Regions from separate parts of the Homo sapiens genome. Here regions 2, 3 and 4 are each linked to region 1. Evidence: promoter capture Hi-C in 16 types of primary human blood cells and fetal thymus (Javierre and others, 2016). All regions are on one chromosome and are shown on one strand. Each heading gives the region's core, a stretch centred on a gene start or on the middle of the fragment in contact. The rest is flanking DNA. Distances are from core to core; before and after follow the strand shown.

The links. The method cuts DNA at HindIII sites, captures the fragments that hold promoters and counts their contacts. A CHiCAGO score of 5 or more calls a contact.
Region 2: a fragment that was not itself captured here is called in contact with the fragment with the promoter of FDFT1 in region 1 in 1 of 17 cell types (total B cells); the score reaches 5.7 in total B cells.
Region 3: a fragment that was not itself captured here is called in contact with the fragment with the promoter of FDFT1 in region 1 in 1 of 17 cell types (naive B cells); the score reaches 6.7 in naive B cells.
Region 4: a fragment that was not itself captured here is called in contact with the fragment with the promoter of FDFT1 in region 1 in 1 of 17 cell types (naive B cells); the score reaches 7.2 in naive B cells.

Annotation. Positions count from the first base shown.
Region 1 is chr8:11,801,394-11,804,257 of GRCh38, forward strand. FDFT1 (farnesyl-diphosphate farnesyltransferase 1) reads left to right here and starts at 1,348. Exons shown (of 8, transcript NM_004462.5): 1 at 1,348-1,538. The coding sequence starts at 1,440. RefSeq lists enhancers at 1-137, 138-879, 917-1,076 and silencers at 1,147-1,396, 1,607-1,726. The HindIII fragment of the contact is 12,361 bases long and covers 1-2,864 here.
Region 2 is chr8:11,411,521-11,414,384 of GRCh38, forward strand. The region is part of intron 3 of FAM167A-AS1 (FAM167A antisense RNA 1); the gene reads left to right. Among named protein-coding and RNA genes, the nearest start is that of FAM167A-AS1, 45 kb to the left of the region's middle. RefSeq lists an enhancer at 1-274. The HindIII fragment of the contact is 4,489 bases long and covers 1-2,864 here.
Region 3 is chr8:11,448,862-11,451,725 of GRCh38, forward strand. All of the region lies in intron 1 of FAM167A (family with sequence similarity 167 member A), which reads right to left. Among named protein-coding and RNA genes, the nearest start is that of FAM167A, 16 kb to the right of the region's middle. RefSeq lists an enhancer at 2,847-2,864. The HindIII fragment of the contact is 204 bases long and covers 1,284-1,487 here.
Region 4 is chr8:11,528,798-11,531,661 of GRCh38, forward strand. The region is part of intron 1 of BLK (BLK proto-oncogene, Src family tyrosine kinase); the gene reads left to right. Among named protein-coding and RNA genes, the nearest start is that of BLK-AS1, 28 kb to the right of the region's middle. The HindIII fragment of the contact is 224 bases long and covers 1,278-1,501 here.

The DNA.
Region 1 (2,864 bases), core at 98-2,597:
ACTGCAACCTCTGCCTCCTGTGTTCAAGCGATTCTCCTGCCTCAGCCTCCCAGGTAGCTGGGATTATAGGCGCCTGCCACCATGCCTGGCTAATTTTTGTATTTTTAGTAGAGACGCAGTTTCAGCATGTTGGCCAGGCTGGTCTTGAACTCCAGACCTCAGGTGATCCGCCCGCCTTGGCCTCCCAAAGTGCTGGGATTACAGGCATGAGCCACCGCGCTCGGCTAGACCTGACAGGTTTTAAAAGGATTACTGGTTGCTGTGTTAAAACAGACTGCAGGATGGCTTAGGTAGCCAGTAGGTTTTTTTTTTTTTTTGGAGACGTAGTCTTGCTCTGTTGGCCTGGCTGGAGTGCAGCGGTGTCATCTTGGCTCACTGCAAACTCCGCTTCCCGGGTTCAAGTGATTCTCCTGCCTCAGCCTCCGGAGTAGTTGGGACTACAGGCGCCCACCACCACACTCGGCTTTTTTGTATTTTTAGTAGAGACGGGTTTCACCATGTTGGCCAGGATGGTCTCGATCTCTTGACCTCGTGATCCACCCGCCTTGGCCTCCCAAAGTGTTGCGATTACAGGCGTGAGCCACCACGCCTGGACGGGTAGCCAGTAGTTTCTAGGGCTGGAGAGATCTAGGATGAGAGAAGTTTCCACATTCCTGTTACAGGCTCTCTAAGGCTTCAGCTCCTTTTTCTAGGACTAAGCTGGATCTCAAGTAAACACTAGAGAGGGGGCAGCTGAAGCTCCAGGAGTGTGTGGGGCTCCCTGGGGCTGGATGGCGGTGGCGGGCAGGCGAGCTGGGCTGTGCTCGGGTGTGTTACAGTAAAGACGCCCAGCTTGGCGCTGGCCCGGCCTTTTCACGGTTTTAGGCTCTACAGAGAGCGGCTGCAGAGCTCACCCGGCTGGCAGGAGCCACCGAGGCCGGACACGTGGGCGACTTATTGACCAAGTGGGGAGGAAGCAGCCCCGCACTGCTCTCCCGACTGCGGACCACCGTTGGGCTCCTGCGCATCCTAAGCCCCACCGCCTCACCTCCAGTCCCCACAGCGTTCGCGCTCCCAGCCGGGGTAAGCGGAAGAAAACAAAGGCCCGGCTCCATCAGGGCACCAATCCCGCTCGTCGGCCTCTTTCTCGGCCTCCAATGAGCTTCTAGAGTGTTATCACGCCAGTCTCCTTCCGCGACTGATTGGCCGGGGTCTTCCTAGTGTGAGCGGCCCTGGCCAATCAGCGCCCGTCAGCCCACCCCACGAGGCCGCAGCTAGCCCCGCTGGCGGCCGAGGCCGGTTGAAGTGGGCGGAGCGGCGGGCGGGGCGTCGCCGTACTAGGCCTGCCCCCTGTCCGGCCAGCCCCTCGAAGCACCTACTCCACAGGTCCAGCCGGCCGGTGAGCGCCTGGGGACCGCAGAGGTGAGAGTCGCGCCCGGGAGTCCGCCGCCTGCGCCAGGATGGAGTTCGTGAAATGCCTTGGCCACCCCGAAGAGTTCTACAACCTGGTGCGCTTCCGGATCGGGGGCAAGCGGAAGGTGATGCCCAAGATGGACCAGGTGGGCCGAGCCTCCCTGCTTGCCCGGGGCGGGGAAGGAGCTCGCTGGGCCGGCCTCAGGGCCTGAGCGGCCGGGCCCGGATCTGGGGCAAGGGGCGCGGCGAGCAGGGCCGACGCCTGGGTGTTCCCGTCCCCCTTTCCTCGAGCCTTCCCCCTGTAGGGCCCGGGTGGACGCGGCCGTCCTGGCTGACCTGTCCCTGCCCCCGCAAGCCGCCCTGGGCATGAGCGACTTTTGCGTGGTTCCCGGTGGTTGCGCTCCCCGTTTCGTCCCCTCCGTGAGCATCGGCGCTTACCGGTATTTTAACCCGAGGGTTACACATCTGAGGCAATGTGGGTGGGTTACGCGGGAGAGGACGAGTGAGTTTTTTGGTAAGCGGAATGAACTATGCAGATAACATCACATGAAGGCCGTTTCTGGAATGAAGTCTGACTCCTCCAGTTTCACCACCTCTTCCGGAGCTCTCCCCGCCTTGCTGCCTTCCATCGCTTCATCCTCGGTGCTTCCTGAGTTTTAAAATCGCCTATCTACGCTTCCAAGTTCCAATGAGTTATCTAACGTCTATGGATTAGCTAGGTGGTTGGTGGAAGGTCAGAACTTGGTTTTACTTAGATTTTTATCTGCCTCATGCCTGTACTATTTGTTTAATGAATGCATAGGAGGTGTTTTTATTCCAACAAGAAAATTATTCGTACGCGATTATTGAATGAATAGACAAATTCAGCCAAGTTCTTCTGGTCTGGACCAGCCTGGCTGATTTCTGTAACTTTTTTGGGCCAACAGGACAGTAGCAAATGTGACTCAGGCCGAGGCTTGATAGGTGCCTGAACATCGGAGTCTTTCTTTCAGTGTCCATGTGCTTCAGTAAACACACTAGAAAATAAATTTCTGGTTTTTGTCCCCAGTAGACTACACCCTCATTTGGTGTTATTTTTCACGTGCTATCTTTAATACAGGTACATCCTTCAGTCTATTTGTAGAACATTCAGTTTTCTTCATCTTTTCTTTGCCGGTGCTACATTATTTGAATTATTTTGCTACAGAATAACTTCTATTATTTGATATGGCAGATGTCACTTTTTATATTTAGATATAGCATTCATTTATTTAACAAATATTTGACGACCAGTTGTATATCAGATAGTGTTCTAGGTGCTGGAGGTACAACAGTGAACAAGCTAGGTGAAGACCTTGATTTTATAAAACTTACTTTTTAGTGGAAGAGAGACAATTTAAGAAAGCGAATGTACAGTTTTTCACGTGGAGAAAAGCACTGCAGAGGAAGATACTAGCAGGGCAAGGGATCTGAGTGCAGTCAGACCTCATTTG
Region 2 (2,864 bases), core at 185-2,684, 390 kb before region 1:
AAAACAGCATCTGAACTTTTAATTTTCCAGCAAACATGGCAAGTGACAGCAATTGCAAATGCCAAGAACACAAGCAACTATCACGGGCGTTTTTCAAACTGTTTCTCAGAATGCACCTCTAAAGAGATCTCCGTGTCTCCGGCAGGGGGCGCGTTAGGATTTCCTTAACACCATGGGTCCGCAGGATAAAAGTGAAAAAACCGTTTGTTTAAGAGGCAGAAGGGCAAGACCAGGACAGATATGTGTTCTCAGACCTCCTCTACTGTGGCTCTGACAGGGAGTAGGTGGAGGAGGCACTGCAGGGCAGAGCGAATGAACAGTTCCGACCACTCCAGCGCCTGGACCTGCTTCTTGTCATAGGAGGAGACCCCCCTGATTGCTGAAGCCCTCTGGCTCTGACAGCAGAGCCAGATGCTCTAAGAGACACGTGCTCTAAGTCATGTGTCCCAGCAGCTCGGGGGCGACATAAGGTCATGCCTCTCCTAATACTTTATGCGATATAATTCTGAGCCGCATTTCATCACGACAAACCTTTCTCCTCTCCCTTTTTCACCAAGACTCGCTTGTCCCTGGGGCTGCCCCTCACAGGTCTGCTCTGCCCCTTGAAGTGGAGGATGTCACCCCTCCATGGCCTGGGTTCCCAGTGTCATGGCCCCTGTGATGGGGCTCACCCACGTCCCACAGTCTGGCCTGTCTGGGATCACAGCGTTCCGGCAGTTAGAGATGCTTCAGTAGCGTTCATCTGGGAAGGAGCCAGGAGCCCTTTCTTCTGGAAGGCTTCTTGGCCCCAATACAATCACTTGTCCATCCCTCCCTAGCAATCTCAGTGGGGAGTGGAGGGTCTGGCTCCGGCAGAAGAAGAGGAGTCCTGACTTGCCTTTCCTCTCACTCACTGAAAGGGGCCATGCTGGCGTCTGTCTCAGGAAGACTCACTGTCTCGTCTGCTAGAAATAGAAGGGGCTGGAGTCTTTTAAACACAAATTCTCTTGCTTAAAAGAAATCAAGTTCTGCATCTCAGGGTGCCCTGCAACATTTTCATGATGGTTCCATCAGCTGTGTCTTTTCTGAGACAGAAAGAGAGAGAGAGCACGTAGGCAGCTTTGCAGAGCAAGGTGGCTGGATGGGAGCCAGGATCCAGGAGGTGACCCCGCTGTCCTTCTGTCCCCTGCAGAAAGTGGGCAGTAGGGCCTCCTGCCTTCCTGCTTTGGGCCCCCTGAAGGGCTGTGCTGTGTGGAGGTGACCTGCCAGGGGCCCGCCCAGAGATGAGAGGGGACTGCAGTCGCCCGCCTGGCTGGAGCTAGCTCTGGGCTCACATGGACAATGGGTGATGGCAGGCCACTCTGGGTGGTGGAATGGGGCGTCAGGGACTGGGGCCTTCTGCAGGGCTGCTGGGTCTTGCATCTGCTCCTGCCCCTGAGCCTCAAACTCAGAAGCTGTGATTTCTAGGCCCTGTTCTTAGACTTGACCAGAACATTCTGAAAAGGGGAGATGGGGGCAGTGCAGGAAAGGAAGGCTGGTTCATGTGCTTGCATTTGGTGACCATATCCCATCTTAAAAATAACCTCCTGCGTTTCACTGTTTCTTGCACCTTCTCTCTTTCTTGGCCTTCTCCCCATTTCTCTCTCTCCCTTCCTCTCTCTCTTGCTTCCTCTCTTCCTCCCCCTCTCTCTCCCCACCTTCTGTTTTCTACCCCTGGTGCTTCTGACATGGGCTTCATTGTGGGTTTGAGATAGGAGTTGGGGAGGGCTTGTTTTGCAGGGTACAGATCACAAAGACCCTGCTGATAAAATGAGATGTGGTCAAGAAGCCGATCAAAATCTAGCAAAACCAAGATGGGAACAAAGGCAACCTCTGGTCGTCCTCACTGCTCATTATACGCTAATTATAATGCATTAGCTGCTAAAAGGACACTCCCACCAGCGCCATGACAGTTCACAAGTGCTGTGGCAATGCCTGGAAGCTACCCTATATGGCCTGAAAGGGGGAGGAACCCTCAGTTACGAGAATTCCCTGCCCCTCTCCTCGAAAACTCATGAATGATCCACTCCTTCTTCAGCATATGATCAATAAAGAAATAGCCAACCAGCAGTCCCGGGCTGCTCTGCCTATGGAGTAGCCACTCTTTTATTCCTTTCCTTTCCTAATACATTTGCTTTCACTTGACTCTGTCGGCTCACTCTTGAATTTCTTCCTGTGCAAAGCCAAGAACCCATGTGGCCTCCCAGGCTGAACCCGGTTTAGGGGTTTGTCCTGTGACAGGTCTGTCAAGGGGAACAGAGCCCAGAGCAGATTGGCAGAAATATGGTGCCTTTTACCCAGCGACTCAGGTGTGTGCAGACGCCATATGTGGCCACACAGGGGCAGTAGGACACTGGGCAGAGGCTGTGCCCGTGCCACCTCGCATGAGGAAGCATCGTCCCTCATCCAGTTTGGCACAGCCTGAGGCTTGGATATGGGGTGAATCCAATGTGGCGCAGGCAAAGGCCGGGCCTCACTCTTGTCTGACTTGCCCTCCATCTGTGAAAATGTTTGTGCATTCCCCAACAGATTTATATAATATACATGTCTGTACCCATATATTATACATATTTAGAGCACATTGAAAGCAGAAAAGAAGAGGTTTAAAACATTAATAGAAGTTCTCGTCTTTTTGCGTGCATGTGACAAGGTTTCATTCTGTGGCCCAGGCTGAAGTGCAGTGGCGTGATCGTGGCTCACTGCAGCCTCGACCTCCCCAGGTTCAGGTGATCCTCTCATCTCAGCCTCCTGAGTAGCTGGGCATGTGGGTAGCTATTTTTTCTACTTTTTGTAGAGATAGGGTCTCACCATGTTGCCCAGGCTGGTCTAGAACTCCTGGGCTCAAG
Region 3 (2,864 bases), core at 136-2,635, 350 kb before region 1:
CTCAGTCCTTTCCTCGTGGCCTCAGTTCCCTAATCTGTGCAATGGCTGAGGATCTATGGAACCTGGTATGTGAGAGCTCTCTTTAAACTGTAAAGAGCTGTACCCACCTGAATAGGCGTGTGTGCAATGTGGAGAGGCCTGAGTTGGGGAGTCACTATTTTAGAGCAGGTGGTCACCCGTAGCTGGCAGGAACGGGATTGCCCCCAGCACAGCCAGATGGTGAGGAGCTGCTGCAGGAATGGGATTGCCCCCAGCACAGTCAGACCGCGAGGAGTTGCTCAAGCAGCATGTGTTTTCCTGGTCGTCAGTGTTTGGGGAGCACTGTCCCCCTGGGTGCCCTGGTGCCTGAACAAGCCCAAAGGGGTTTCTTCCCTCCCACTAGGCACAGGAGCTCAGCTGGAATGTCACCCACACAGGCGCAGGGACGTGACAGCAGAAAAGCTTGTCACTGCTCACTGGGCACTGAGCTGGACCCGGCCTGAGCCGGCAGAGAGGTGCTGGCCGGGTGCCGGGGAACAGATGCCAGCACTGGGCAGCTTCCTGGGCTGGAAAAGCAGTGGAGGCCTCCCCTCGCTTGACAAACCAGGGACTCCTGGGGCCCAGGCCCCGGGAGGAAGAGCCCCCCAACACTCTAAACAAACGGGCTTTCTTTACATGTAACCTGGGTCGTTCCTAGGGGTGGAGGGGCCGGAGAAGGAAGCCAAAGGACGCTGCCAGACCTGGGACCTAGGGTGTCTAGAAAAACGACATCAGACCCTGTAATCCCACCAGGCCCAGGCACGCCCCGCCAGGCAGGCCACCCAGCAGCAGTGGGGACAAGCCCTTGGGGGGGCGCGTCAGCCTTTCTGCAGCTCTGTGTGCCAGTGCCGAGGACCCATGCCACACACAGAGACTGCTGTTCCAACAAGCTCCCTGGCTCCCAGGCCCACAGCGGCTCCTTGGAGGAGCCTTCGCCAACCATGAGCTAACTCCTCTGGCTGCTGGAGGAGCCAGGTGGGGGCAGCTCAGCCAACACCTTGTCTCATTATGACCTAATCTGTTCACCTGGAAAACGGTCACATCCACTTCCTCGATGGGCTCCCAAGGGCAGGGGAAGACGCAGGCACTGCTGACCCATCCCCTCCACACCTCCTCTCACCACGCGCTCCTGCTGTTCCTTCCAGCCTCGCATTCTCCACTAGAACCCTTTCGTTTCTTCTCCATAAGACACAATCTTTCCAACCCCGACCCAGCACTCCTGTCCCGCCGGACACCATGCTCTTTCACACCCCTGACTCGGCACAAGCTTTCCTCCAGCCTGGAAAGCCCTTCACTCCCTTCTGTGCCTTAGTTCAGTTCTCAGGGATTTTCTCCTGGGGGAAGTTTTGCTTGATTTGCCCAGGCTGGGCTGTGTGTACCCAGGACAACCCGAGCACATCAGAGAAACAATTATGTCATCGCAACATTAGCTAATGCTTACAGCACACCACACGAGCTGTGGTGCTAAAAGCTTTACATGTATTAACACATTTAATCCTCACAACAGCCCTATGAATCTGGGGTATCATCATCCCCATTTTACAGATGAAGAGACTGAGGCATAGACAGGTTCGGGACCTTGCCTGAAGCCACAGAGCTTATAAGTGGTGAAGCTGGGATTTGAACCTCTGCAGTCTAGCTCTGAGCTGGCCCCTAACCACTGGGCTTACTGCCCCTCTTAAGCCACAGCACTTACACCCAGGGCCTTTGTCAATGGTCGCCTCTAGCAGACTCTCAACTTCAGGACGAGAACCAAGCCTTTTATGCTGGACCCTCCAGTACTTAGCACAATGCTGCTCTCTTTAAATGCTGTGGAATGAATGAGCCAATAAAACAGATTTCCTCCCACTCACAGCGACCTGTCCTTGCTCAAATCTGAGCCAGCCTGGATGGGCTCAGAGAGGCAGAAAAAGACACCCAGGCTTCCTGGGATGGTGCCTCCCCTCCTGTCCCCACGGATGCCACCCACCCTGCCTGCCCTGACCACAAGTGTCCAGACATAGGTGTGCAGGCTCTGGGCCTGCAGTGGGACAAAGACAGGAACAGCTGCAGCTCATCCCAAATCCCAGGACTATGTGCTGGAGTTGGAGGGGACAGTCTGATGTGACAGACCTAGCTTGAGGGCCTCCTTGGAGTCCAGTGCAGGATGAGGTCATTTCCATCCAGCAGCTTCCTCCCTCTTCTGGAAAGTGCATCCCCCTTTCCCACAGGAGCCCATCCCTGGGGTTTCCTTTCTCCTGGGGCGTGGGGAGACACAGGATGAAGTTTTGGTGTCAGAACCACTCAGAGGCCAGCCTTGCTCTGAGCTGGCCGGGGCCGCTGGGGCCACCATGCTCAGCACATGTGGGGAAAGGGTCTAACTGGAGAGCAAAGCCAAGCCGACAGTGTGGCAGCTTGGCCATCACAGCCCAGTGGCAAGGAGCTGGGGGCCCGCAGCTGGGCCCCGTGGGAAGCCACCCGCCCTGCCCAGGTTACACAGCGTATACCTTCCGCCTTTTTTGCTTCAGCTACTTGGAGATGGGGTTTCTGACATTCGTAAGTGACTGACACAGCACGCACTGGAGAAGGAATATTAAAGAGCACAGTGGATGCTTGCTGCTATTTGTCTTTCGTTGGACTGTGTGTCTGTTTGCCATATCCAACACCCTCTCCTTTCCTGTGTGGAGGGAGCTCCCCATTTTGTGCAGAACAGCAGGCAGGCCGTGCAGCCTTCTCTGCAACCAGAGGACCACGTGCTCCTCTTCCCAGCTCATGCCCTGGTGACCAGGTGTGAGCATGTGACCTGAGCTTGGCCAGTCAGCTGTTCAGGCCCCGACTCTGAATTGGGTGCGTGTGAGTCTCAGAGG
Region 4 (2,864 bases), core at 140-2,639, 270 kb before region 1:
CATGGAAGTGGATGGAGGTGGAAGGCATTATCCTCAGCAAACTAACGCAGGAACATAAAACCAAACACTGTATGTTCTCAATTATAAGTGGGAGCTGAACGGTGAGAACATATGGACACACAGAGGGGAATAACACACACTGGGGCCTATTGGGGAGCGGGAAGGAGAGCATCAGGAAAAATAGCTAATGGATGCTGGACCGAATACTTAGGTGATGGGTTGATAGGTGCAGCAAACCACCATAGCACACGTTTACATATGTAACAAACCTGCACATTCTGCACACGTACCCCATAACTTAAAATTTAAAATAATAGTAATAATAATAATTAGCCCTAATATAAGGAGTGAAAGTGTAAATCGCCCAGTGGGTTCACCTTGCCCGCTGCCTAGACAAAGCCAATTTATCAAGACAGAGGAATTGCAAAAGAGAAAGAGTAATTCACACAGAGCCAGCTGTGTGGAAGACCGGAGTCTTATTATTACTCAAATCAGCCTCCTTGAGCATTCGGCGATCAGAGTTTTTAAGAATAATTTGGTGGGTGGAGGAAGCCAGTGAGTCGAGAGTGCTGATTGGTTGGGTCAGAGATGAAATCACAGGGAGTCAAAGCTGTCTTCCTGCGCTGAGTCAATTCCTGGGTGGGAGCCACAGATCAGATGAGCTGGTTTCTTGATCTGGGTGGTGCCAGCTGATCCATCAAGTGCCAGGTCTGCAAAATATCTCAAGCGCTGATCTTAGGAGCAGTTTGGGGGGTGGGAGATCAGAATCTTGTAGCCTCCAGCTGCATGACTCCTAAATCATAATTTCTAATCCTGTGGCTAATTTGTTAGTCCTACAAAGGCATCTAGTTCCCAGGAAAGAAGGAGGGTTCTTCTGGAATGCGCTGTTATTGTCTTCATTTTTAACTACAAACTATAAATTAACTTCTTCCCAAAATTAGTTCAGCCTATGCCCAGGAATGACCAAGGACAGCTTGGAGGTTAGAAGCAAGATGCAGTTGGTTAGGTTAGATCTCTTTCACTGTCTCAGTTGTAATTTTGCAGCGGCAGTTTCAAAAGTCCTAGCTTCAGGAGTCCCTGTAGAACTGACCTGAAGCCTCAAGGAATCCAGGTGAATAACCCCAAAAATCAACCAAATATGGGGTCATCAGCAGAAGCTCAAGAACAATGGATGAGGCTGGAATCTAATAACAGGTGTGCTGTAGCTGTTTTGAAACATAATTTTTCTCTCTCCAGTTTATTTTTACTAAAGACAAGACCAATTTATTTGCAAAATAAGCTTGCCTTATTATACTTTGCCTAATTATTTACATAAAGTGCAGCAAGAATAATTATTGGCCATATAGGCTCTTTTTTTCTAACTGGCTTTGCTGGAATTTTTTTCATAAGGAATCTCAGATTAGACCTTTTAAAAGTCTCTTGAGCCCAGCCAAGGATTTATTTGTGCCTGCAGATACTTGTATGAATTGGGTGAATTCCTTTCTTCTTGAGGTCCCAACAAAGCTTGGAGTTCCTGGGCCTGTCAGAAAGTGACATTCTTTATTTGCCACAGGTCGGGAATCCTGTACAGGACAAGGTAGGAGGTCAGTTCCTCCAAGGGGCTTTCATCATCTCTGTAGGTCAGCCTCGATTTCTTAAAGCAGTCTGAAAATATGTCATTTCAGTCAAAGCCTTGGTAAAATAAGCAGTGTCTCCAACTGTGTCTTGCTACAAAAGAAAACACATTCTTATTGAACTTACTCAAGTAACTATATTGCCTTATGTTAAAAATACTCACAAATAATTTCCAAATTCTGGAGAAGGCAGGTAAAGAGAAAGAAATATGCTCTAAATTTTGTTTACAGGAGTATATTTTGCTCAATTGTTAAAAGTTGTAAATAGCTCAGTAGAAGTTTTCTTTACTCTGAAAAACAAAACAAAAAGAATCAGCAACAATTTTAAGTGAAAAGTCGAAAAGATTTTTCCAGTTACTGAATGTTTTGGTTGTTTCCAGCTGGGAGCTAATTAATATGAGTAACAATGCTAAGAACATATATGTCAAGTCTTTCTGTGGTCATATGTTTTTATTTCTCTTTGATAAGCAACAAGAAGTGAAATATCTGGGTCACAGGTTAAGAAGCTCCCAAATTGTTTCCTAAAGTTGTTTCGTTTCACCTTACCATCAGCCTCAGGTGAGCATTCTAGTTTCTCCATATGCTTGCCAACACTTGGTATGATCGGTCATCTAATTTTAGCATCTGGGTGGTTGTGTGGTGGCATTTCACTGTGGTTTTAGTTGCCATTCCCCTAATGACTGACGACACCGAACACCTGTTCATGGGTTTGTGTGCTGCTCAGCTGTCTTCTCTGTTCAACTGTTTGTTAAATTGAATTTTTGGCTTCTTTTATAGAGTTTAAAAGTTAATTATATATTCTCATATAGATACATGTTTTTCAAAAATGTCCTGCCTGTCTCTGATTTAGCTATTTCTTTTCTTAATGGTGTTTTTAAAGTGCAGAAGTTCTTAATTTTGAAAAGTCTAATTTATCAATTTTTCTTGTATACTTTATGATCTTCTATTCTAAGGGAATAATCTATTCTAAGGGAATAGAAGGTCACGTTTGTATGCTTCTGACTCATATTCTTTATATCCTTTGTGACACCAAGGTCACAAAGATTTCCTTCTAGGTTTTCTTCTAAGAATATAATGTACCTCTTTAAAGCAGCTTTTAAGATTGTTTTTATTTATCATTGGTTTTCAACAATACGATTATAATGTACCTTGGTGTGGTTTTCTTCATACTTGGGGTTGATATTCTTGAGTCTTCGGGTCTATAGCTTCTATCAAATTTGGAATTTCCATTTTTGGTTTCTTTAAGTTTCA